2 separate regions of the Homo sapiens genome follow, and region 2 is linked to region 1. Evidence: promoter capture Hi-C in human tissues and cell types (Jung and others, 2019). All regions are on one chromosome and are shown on one strand. The core of a region is centred on a gene start or on the middle of the fragment in contact, and the rest is flanking DNA. Distances in the headings are between cores, read along the strand shown. Region 1 holds the start of NMNAT2 (nicotinamide nucleotide adenylyltransferase 2). Region 2 has its middle 70 kb from the start of APOBEC4.

Region 1 (5,025 bases), core at 1,669-4,168:
TGAGTGCTTTCCACATTCTTTGTTTTCTCCAGTCACCTTGGTGTGCTTGTCAAACACCCCCAAGCACTCTTAGTCTTCCGATCCTTTATACTAGCAGTCCTGCCTGGTATATTCTTCCCTAGATATTCAAGTGACACATACCTTCACTTCATTTAGGTCCCTGTTCAAACACTGTCTTATCAAAGAGGCCATCTTTGACCCCTGCAAATAAAAGAGGATTTTCTTTCTTTCTCTTTTCTTCACATTCTGCTTTATTTTTCTTTATGGTACTTTTTACCATTATGTTTATTCATTTGTTTATGGTCTGTTGTTTTCCCCTGGAATGTGAGCTGTATTAAAGCAGGGACTCTGTTTTGTTCACAGCCCCTAAATCAGGGCTTGGTGCATGGCTGACACTCAATAAATATTGATTGCTTAACTATAATTATGTCAATTGCCTAGCTAGTGAGTCTCAGTTTCATACCTGAGTCAACCTCCCTTTACAAGCTCTAGCTCTTTTTAAGCCACTAATCTGCATATCATATTAGGGAAGATACAAACCCCATTATAAATATATATCAGTTCTTAGGAGTCTTCTATTTAAACTAGAAATTTTATGCGTATTAGGGTTGATTTGCTATTCATCATAATTTAACAAATATTTACTCCACACCTACCACATGCTCTTGGATAAGAAAAAACACAGTGACCAACTCACTAATATGGGGTGGAAATTTATCCAAGAAACTTGAAGCCCAGGATAGGTACGTATTTGTACTTGTCAATCTCTAAGTTAAGAATTATTGGCTCTGGCTGGGTCTGTGGCCCATGCCTTTAATCTCAACAGTTTGGGAGGCTGCCGTGGGTGGATTGCTTGAGGTCAGGAGTTCAAGACCAACCTGGGCAATATAGTGAGATCCCATCTCTACAAAAAACACGAAGAATTAGCTGGACATGGTGGCAAACACCTGTAGTCCCAGCTACTTGCAAGGCCGAAGTGGGAGGATTGCTTGAGTCCAGGAGATCGAGGCTGTGGTGAGCTGAGATCATGCCACTGCATTCCAGCCTGGGTGACAGAGTGAGATCCTGTCTCAAAAAAAAAAAAAAAAAAAAAAAGAATTATCCTCTATATCCAATTCATCTGCAAAGAATTATTGGTTCTTTCTGTTGTATAAGCATAGAACATCTATCTTCCCCTACCATTCTCAATTTCAGTCTACTCATTGTTTAAGCCAAATTTCAAAATCTATAAAACATATCCTGAGACCATCTACTTCTCGTTGCTCCCGTCTCTATAAACCCTGGTCTCAGGACAACTCCACTTGCCTAGGCTACCAGATTTTCCTAAATGCTTTCCTTGTCTTCCCATTTGCCCTCCCTTTCCACCCAGCAGCCAGAGTGATCCTATAAAAATGTAAATTACATATTATTCCCCTGCTTAAAAGCTTCAGTGGCTTCCTTTTGTTATTATTCCACTTAGAAAAGTGTCTAACTCTTGCCCTAGTCTACAAGCCCCATTTGATCTGGCCCTGATCACCTGCTGCTCAGTCTTCTATCATTTTTCCCCTTGCCCATACTTTCTAGCATCACTGGCCTTTCATTTCTATGAATACAGTAAGCCCTTCCCTGTCCCTGAATACGTGAGCTAGCAACTACTCCTGTCGCTCAGGTCTCACTGAAATGTCACCTCCCCAGAGAGGCCTTCTCAGACTACTTGATTCGTCCTCTCTTCTCCACTCACTCTCTGCTCTGTCAGAGAGTAAATTGCATTCACTTACTGTGCATTGCACAATTGCCATCTAATATTTATTGTCTATCTTCCTCCAGTAAAATGAAGACAGTGACTTTGCTTCACCAGCAGGGTTTATAGCAATACTTGACACATAATGAGCCCTCAAGAAACACTTGTTAAATGGTAAGTCTTTGTCTCAACTTTGGTAGCTTATGGAGGATCCCCATCATTTTCTTTTTTCTTTTTTTTTGTTTCGAGATGGATTCTCGCTGTCGCCCAGGTTGGAGTGCAGTGGTGCGATCTTCGCTCACTGCAACCTCTGCCTCCCAGGTTCAAGCAATTCTCCTGCCTCAGCCTCCTGAGTAGCTGGGATTACAAGCACTCGCCACCATGCCCGGCTAGTTTTTGTATTTGCTTTTTAGTAGAGACAGGGTTTCACCGTGCTGGCCAGGCTGGTCTCGAACTCCTGACCTCGTGATCCGCCCGCCTCGGCCTCCCAAAGTGCTGAGATTACAGGCATGAGCCACCGCACCCGGCGGATCCCCATAATTTTCTAATACAGTTTTAGTAACTCTGCCCCCTTCATGTTCTCTCAAACGGATAGCATTGCTTCGCCCACGAAAAGGATCAGTATTGCAGAGGAAGGGCTTAGATCACCCCTATCTCTCTGCAGCCAGCAGATCAAGATTTGGACTCAACTCAATAGTTTGGAATCATCAGATAAAGGAAAAAGGAAAAGCAGAAATGAATACTACTGAAATAAACAATGGTCATTTCTCACTTAAAATTTTGAGGAAGAGAGAAAGAAAAAATACCTTAAGATCAAACATTTTTTAACTTGGAGATGTTAGAGAAAGTAGGGGGGACAGAAAAATGTTAGAATGAGGAGGAAAACTGAATCAAGATGAGGCAAGAGGCAGAAAGAGCTCACACCATGCTGTGGGCTCTTGGTTCTGAGCTTGGATACCACGTCTTGCCTTCTGGATAAACTCTAAGGAAGACAGTGATGGAGTGAAGTGGGCTGGGGGCGATAGAGAGGATGGGGTGGGGCACCAGGCGAGAGATGCGAAGGAAGCCAGAACGAAAAGAGAGCGACCGAGGAGAGAAGAGAGCAGAGCAATACAAAAGCAGCCTCGGATCTAGCCGGAGCTGCAAGCGTTAAGGGGAGGCGGAGAGTGACGCGGTTTGCGTCTGGAGCGGCTCCTTGGAGTCCACAGCATCCACCGCCGGAGCCTCGCCTTCCTTTCTCCCTCTGCAGACACAACGAGACACAAAAAGAGAGGCAACCCCTAGACCACCGCGAAGGACCCATCTGCACCATGACCGAGACCACCAAGACCCACGTTATCTTGCTCGCCTGCGGCAGCTTCAATCCCATCACCAAAGGGCACATTCAGATGTTTGGTGAGTCCTCCCGCCCACCTCTGGAAGCCGCTTCCGCTCCTCTCCTTTCCCAGGCACCTGTGTTTTCCAGGGCGATCGAACGGGAAGGCGTGTGCCCCTTCGGAGGGGTGGGCCGGCTCATCCAGCTGGTGGAGGTCGGCCCCTTCATTTTGGACTCAGGGGAGGGTACGCAGACTGCGTTTCCGAGGCGTCACTTGCCGGGGCCAGACCCGGCTCGCAGGGGGCCAAAGGTGGGGGATGGGAGGGGACTAGAGATGAGTATCATTTGGGGCTGGGCAGGGGTTCGAGATACCAGAACTGGAGTGTGGCGGTGCGGTGGTTCGGCTACCAGGCTGGCGAAGACCGGGATGGGGGCAGAGGTTGGGGCGCCGAGTAGGGGAGGAAGGGGCTGGAGATAACGTGCTGTTTGTTTAGGATGGGCCGAAAGCTCGAAGGAGTTAAATCATGTATGTGCCTGGGATTCGCAAACACACTCGCGCCCGACACACCGGTGACAGGGGCTGGGGCTTCAAGATTAATTTCGGATTTGGCTGGTGATTCTGGGCGGCCCAGGGACCAGTGTTTGGGAATTGTGGGCCGTGTATTGCCCGCGCGAGGTGGATGCTGAGTGAATAGGGAGGGGGCCCTTTTCCGCCTAGGTTCGGCCTCAGGGACCCGCTGCCTAGGACGGGGAGGGGGCCGGGCGGAGGCTGCGGGAGGCCCTGCGCGAGCCGGAGCCGAAGGATCGGGGCCCAAGTTGGCTGAGGCTCTGCCCAGGGTGGCGATGGCACTCGGAAGGCTTGAGGCGTCTAGTGTGTGTACGAATGTGCGAATGACTGTGTGTGAGTATATGCGTGTGCGTGTTGGGGGGAGGGGACTTATCGCGCGTTTGTTTCTTAGAAGCTTTGGGGCGTGGAGTCAGAGAGAGCGAGCGGGGGCATCCGGCTGGCTGGTTCGGGGTCCAGCAGCGGTAGGGGAAAGGTGATCGATAGATGCCTATTGGAGGTCTCGCGCCACCGGTGGGAAGCCACGCGGCTTCGCAGCTGCTCGTAGGACTCAAAGGCGTGGGGCATGAGCGTTTAGACACGGAAAGAGGGACGCGGAGGTCACTTTAGAAGCAGGAATTGAGAAGTTAGAAGTTGGGGGTGCTTTTTCTTGAAACTGAGAGAAGCGAGGAGTAGGGAAAAGCGAGTGGGCTGGGATGGATGAGAGAGCGTGTGGGAGGCCCTGACCTGGCCCGCCAGCAAGGCGCTCTCCAGAGGCGGCGGTGCTGAAATGCAGGGCGCGCCGGAGCTGGATGCGGGCACACGTGTTTATCCGGAGCCTGAGGACTGCGCGAGCCCTCCTAGGGAGGTTTAGTGAAAACCACACCACAGCGGTAAAGACAGGGCGAGGTGGCTTAGGCTAAAAATATTCATCTTTAAACTTAAAAGGTGCGCTGAACTGGGCTCGCTTGTTAAAAACCTCATGGAAAGAATATAGAACTACTTTGAGCAAAGGGCAAATCGGGTAGGCATATCTACACGATAGAAGGAGGGAGGCTGAGAGATAGCCATCCCTTCTTCACCATTCCTTCAGCTTTCAAAAGTCTTTTATTAAGAACCAATGCCAACTTGCCTGTTAAATAAGGACTTCTGTTCCAGCATCAGGGTAGACAAGAGCATGTCATCAGTCTTCTAAGGACTATCAGTGCCCTAAGAACACTCCACTTTCACTTTCCTTTGATGCTGGTGTCTTCATCCCTTTCCTTCTTTTCCTGTCTGTCCATATGTCCTCTAGCACTTTATGTTGATGCGCTTTACTCCTCTCCCTTGACCAGGCAATGATGGGTTTTCCTTTGGAACCAAGAGAAAGGAGGAGTAGGGAAGAGCCATTGGGCTGGGGATGAAACTCTGTGGCTCTAAGAATCTTTGATGACCCAGCAGGTACTG
Region 2 (5,025 bases), core at 712-3,211, 310 kb before region 1:
ATTTAAATAAATTTTTATAGACTACACATAATTGGGTTTTTAAAAGTTCAGCCTTGGCTCAGCAATTCTTCCTGCCATCATGTGAAGGATGCATTTGCCTCCCCTTCTGCCATGATTGTAAGTTTCCTGAGGCCTCCCAAGACATGCAGAACCGTCAATTAAACCTCTTTCCTTTATAAATTACTGAGTCTTGGGCAGTTCTTTATAGCAGTGTGAGAACAGACTAATACACCATCCTTCCTGGGAAAGCTTACCAGGTATTCAAAGGAACTTGGATATTGTCATCTGAGTTTTTGGTCACTGCAGCTGTATCTGCATTAGGGGGACACCTCGAGCTCAGTAACGCTGTGGCTCTTGCAGACTTATAGAGGTACCGCCTTGATGATCTTGGATAAGATTTGGAAGAATTCTCCAGATTACCAGGTAGAGACTCTTATTCTCTTCCCTTACTTTCTCCCAAAGAAACAGAGTCCGTTTCTTTCTCTCTCCTCCTCCTCCTCTTCCCTCCGTGTGTGTGTGTGTGTGTTGTGGTGCCTAGAGCTGGGGGAGAGATGACACAACCACCCCTGTGGCCACTACCACTGGGACTGTGCTAGGTTAGACCTGAAGCCAGCAGAGCTCTGGGCCTCGCTCAAAGCCTGCTATAACCACTATCTGCCTACTGCCTGTGTTCACTCAAGGCCCTAAGGTTCTATAATTAGCAGGTGGTGAAAACAGCCATGCTCATGTCCTTCGCTTAAGGATGGCAAGCTCCCCCCAGGCCCCAGGCAGGTCCAGAGATACCATCCAGGAGCCAGGGCCTAGAGTTGGAAATCTTAGGAATCTCCCTGGTGCTCTATTCTACTGCTGCTGTGCTGACACCCAAACTACAATATAAAGTCCCTCATACTCCTCCCTCCCCCTTCCACAAGCAGAGGAGTCTCTCTTCATGGTGACCACTGCTACAGGCCTGTGAGGAGTACTGCCAGGCTACTGCTGATGTTCACTTAAGGCCCAAGGGATCTCCAGTCAGCTTGTGGTGAATGTTGCCAGGCTTAGGACTCATATGTCAGGGAAGTGGGCTCCCCTCTGGCCTAGGGGACGTCCAGAAATGCTGTCCAAGAGCCAGGGCTTGGAACTGGGGACCCCAAGAGCCCACTTAGTGCTCTACCCTGCTGTGGCTGAGCTGGTACCTAAGCTGCAAGATGAAGTCTCCTTTACTCTTCCCTCTGCTTTTCTCAAGCAGAAACAGTCTCTCCTCATAGCCACCACAGCTGGGAATGTGCTGTGTCACACCTGAAGCCAGCACATCTCAGAGTCTCACCCAAGACCCATGGCATGTACTACCCACCTACCACTGCTGATTATTTTGGGTTCAAGAGCTCTTTTGCTAGCAAATGATGAATCTTGCCAGGACTGGGCTCTTCCCTTCAAGGCAATGAGTTTGCTTCTGGCCCAGGGTGTGTCTAGTAATGTTATCTGGGAGCTAGGGCCTGGGATAGGGGCTTCATAACTCTGCCTAATGCCCTATCCTACTGTGACTGAGCTGGTATCCAAGTTGCAAGACAAAGTCCTCTTTACTCTTCCCTCTCCTTTCTTCAAGCAGAAAGAAGGAGTCTTTTTTGGAGCTGTGAGCTGCACTGCGTGGGTTTGGGGAAGGAGTGGCATAAGCACTCTCTTGGCCATTCCAGCTGGTGTCTCTCTAGGTTGCATGCCCTCAAAATCCACTGGCTCTGAGCCCAGCACTAGGATTGCCTAGGAGTTGCAGTCCTTATGGCCTAGATTGCCTTTCAAGTTTATTTAGAACCCCAGAGCACTTTAGCCTGTGGTGGGGAGGCTTGCCAGAACTCAAGTTCCCACTGCTAGGATGGATAAAGCCCTGCTGGCTAGGGCTGGTCTAAATGCTTCCTCCACGTGCACTGGCTGAGTTCTGCCCAGTATTGTTTCCACTGTGACAGAGCAGCACTGAGTTCCAATGCAAGGTCCCACAGTCACTGTACTCTCCCTCCCGCAAGAGCACAGATTCTCTTTGCTATGCGGCCACTGCCAGGGAACCAGAGAGGGATGGCACTGACAAATCAAGACTGTTTTTCCTATCCTCTTCAGTGCCTCTTTCAGTGACATGAAGTTAAAACCAGGTACAGTGGTCACTCAACTGATTTTCAGTCCTTACGAAGGTGTTTTTTTATGTGGGTAGATAGTTGTTAAATTTGGTGTTCCTGCAAGGAGGACAATTGGTTGAAGGCTTCTATTCAGCCATCTTGCTCTGCCTCCTGCTAGCTGAGTATTTTTAAATTCCATTTTCTCAATACTATTGGTTTATTGGCTATACTTTATTTTTTAATGATTCATCTAGGGCTTTTAATACGCATCTTTATCTTATTTGTCTACCTTGGAAAAACATTACAATATTTTACATAAAATACAAGAATTTTGCATTGGTGTGCTTCCATTTCCCCCCCAATGCCCTTTGTGCTATTGTTGTCATGTATTTTACTTTCTCATGTCATGAATTCCCCCAATATATTGTTGCTGCTGTTTGTTGTTTTAAGCAGTCTACTGTTGCCTTTTTAAAATTTTTTAAATGATGAAATTAGTTTACCCACATATTTATCACTTTCAGAGCTCTTTATTCTTTTGTGTAGATCCACATTATCATCAGGTATCATTTTCCTTCTGCCTGAAGAACTTCCTTTAACAAGCCTTGTACTGCAGGTGTGCTGGCCAACTCTCACAACTTTTCTTTGTCTAAGGAAAGACATGTTTCATGTTTGAAAGGTGTTTTCTCTGGGTCTAGAATTTTAGATTGACAAAATTTGTTCCAGCATTTTAAAGATGTTACTCCATTGTCTTCTGACATGCATAGTTTCCGAAAACTCTGTTGTAATTATTTTTATGTTGTTCCCTGTATGGAATGTGCCCTTTTTTCTCTAATTTTAAGATTTTTGTCAGAATTAGTAACTTGCTGTAATTTGATAATGAAGTTCTTGGTGTGGTTTCCCTAGTAGGTATCTTGCTTCATGTTCCGAGTTTCTTAGCTCTGTGAGTTTATACCTTTCATAAAATATGAAAGATGTTTGGTCATTATTTCTTTAAATATTATCTCTGTTCTCTTTTACTCTCTTCTCTTCTGAAGCCTCCCATTTACATATGTCAGTCAACATGTTATTGCCTCCAGGTCTCTCTTATTTTTCTTGGTCTTTTTTATCTCTGTGTGTAAGCTTCATTTTGGATAGGTTCTATTGCTATGCCTTCAAGTTCATTTATCTTTTTTTTTTTTTTTGGTCCCAGACTATTAAGTGTTCTCTCCTTCTTCTTGGAATCCTCTCCATCATTGACTTCCATGACACTGTTCTGCCCTGTTCTCTTACCTTCTCCAGTGCTCCTCCACAGACTTCTCTGTGGGATCTGCCTTCATGTCCAGCTCCATAAATATTGGTATTCCCTAGTGTTCTGTCTTGACTTTCTTTCCTCACTCCAAATTTTCTCTTTGACTAATTTCATCCCTATCCATGCTTGCAACTGCAATCCACAGATGCTGAATCACAATGGTGAATGAAATAGTCACAGACCCTGACCCTATGAGGTCTTTAATCTAGTGACAGAGATAGTCATTACATAAATGATCACATAAATAATACCATCATCATTGTGATAAGTGTCTTAAAGTAAAAGTAGGCAAGGGAGCTAAACCAAGACACAGGCACAGTGTAGGTCTCTATGAGGAGGTGATGTTTAAGCTGGTCCTTTGAATGAAGTGAGGAAAACACATTCCAAGCTAAGAAAACAGTATCCAAGGTGGCCAAAGGTGAAGAAACTTCATCCTGAAGAGAGGAAACAACAGGCACAAGGGTGCCTAAATTAGAGTGCGCATTTGTATAATAGCAGGTTATCCAAAGATCTGATTACAGATTGGTTGAGCAAAGAAGACAAGATTGGTGAGGTATGCAGAGGACAGAAGGGGAAAGGCGTTTTCTAACATACTGTGGGGTTAAAACTCATACTTACTATTGAGCCTTTGAAAGATTGCACCCAGTGTGAATAAGGACGTGTGCTTGAAGTTAAGAAATCACAGTTTCAGGGAGACAAATTTGGAAGCTATTATAATAGGCAGGGGTAAAATGAGCATCAGGCAGTGGGAGTGGAACAATGGCAGTGGAAATGAAAATAAGAGTTAGACGTATAGATCAAAAAGACTTACATGACAAGGGTGGAATGGATTTGCAGGTCAGGTAGAGACAGAGGAAACAGGAAAATAAAATTCCCACTGAATGACTAAGATTTTAAGAAGGAAACCAGGCTACACAGAGGAATATGATTAGGTGAGTTTTAGTCATGCTGAGAATGAGCAGCCTGTGGTTTTTCCAGATAATATGTTCAATAATTGGTTGGAAACAGAGATCTGGGATCAGGAAGTAAGTCAAGTCTAGAGAAATGGGAGTGAAAGGACATCACTTTCAGCTCCATACATCCAACTGCCAACTCAACATTTCCACCAGGATATCTCAGGGGTTTTTTATTTCCCTCGCAAACTTGATCCTCGTCCAGTGTTCTCTGTTATACTCAATTATACCACCACCCAATCAGAGCTCTCTCCAAGTCATCCTTGACACTTTCCCTTGCTCAGTACCCACATCCAATCAATTACCAAGTCCTTTTCTTTCATCAAAACATATCTCCTAAAAGTCTCAAACAGACATTTTCCTATGCCGCAGCTTCCAACTCCCTAAACCAAGTCACCCTTAACTCACCAAAACTACTTCTTACCCTGGTAGTAGGTAAACTCCTACTCTCTCCCCATCTAATCCATTCTCCACACATTAGGTTCCAGGACTACTACAATAAGCAAAAGAGCCACAGTCCCTAACTTGAAAGGCCTTCAGCTGAAAGAAGGAAGACTGTCAATAAACACTTGTAATATTGACAAGTCAGTAGTATGACAAGGGAAGTGGACAACTTAAGCAAACTGATCCTTTGCCAGAAGTAGGCAGCCCATGGATGCAGGTCTTTGCACATTGGCAGCACCGCTGGGTCAGTTCTTATAGG

What was found. The method cuts DNA at HindIII sites, captures the fragments that hold promoters and counts their contacts. A contact is called where the count stands out against the background at its distance.
Region 2: a fragment that was not itself captured here is called in contact with the fragment with the promoter of NMNAT2 in region 1 in 1 of the 25 tissues and cell types used here (spleen).

The regions. Positions count from the first base shown.
Region 1 is chr1:183,416,273-183,421,297 of GRCh38, reverse strand. It overlaps NMNAT2 (nicotinamide nucleotide adenylyltransferase 2), which reads left to right and starts at 2,918. Exons shown (of 11, transcript NM_015039.4): 1 at 2,918-3,115. The coding sequence starts at 3,031. The HindIII fragment of the contact is 5,834 bases long and covers 1-5,025 here.
Region 2 is chr1:183,720,466-183,725,490 of GRCh38, reverse strand. It overlaps a transcript of RGL1 not described here. Among named protein-coding and RNA genes, the nearest start is that of APOBEC4, 70 kb to the right of the region's middle. RefSeq lists an enhancer at 1,174-1,674. The HindIII fragment of the contact is 4,359 bases long and covers 1-4,140 here.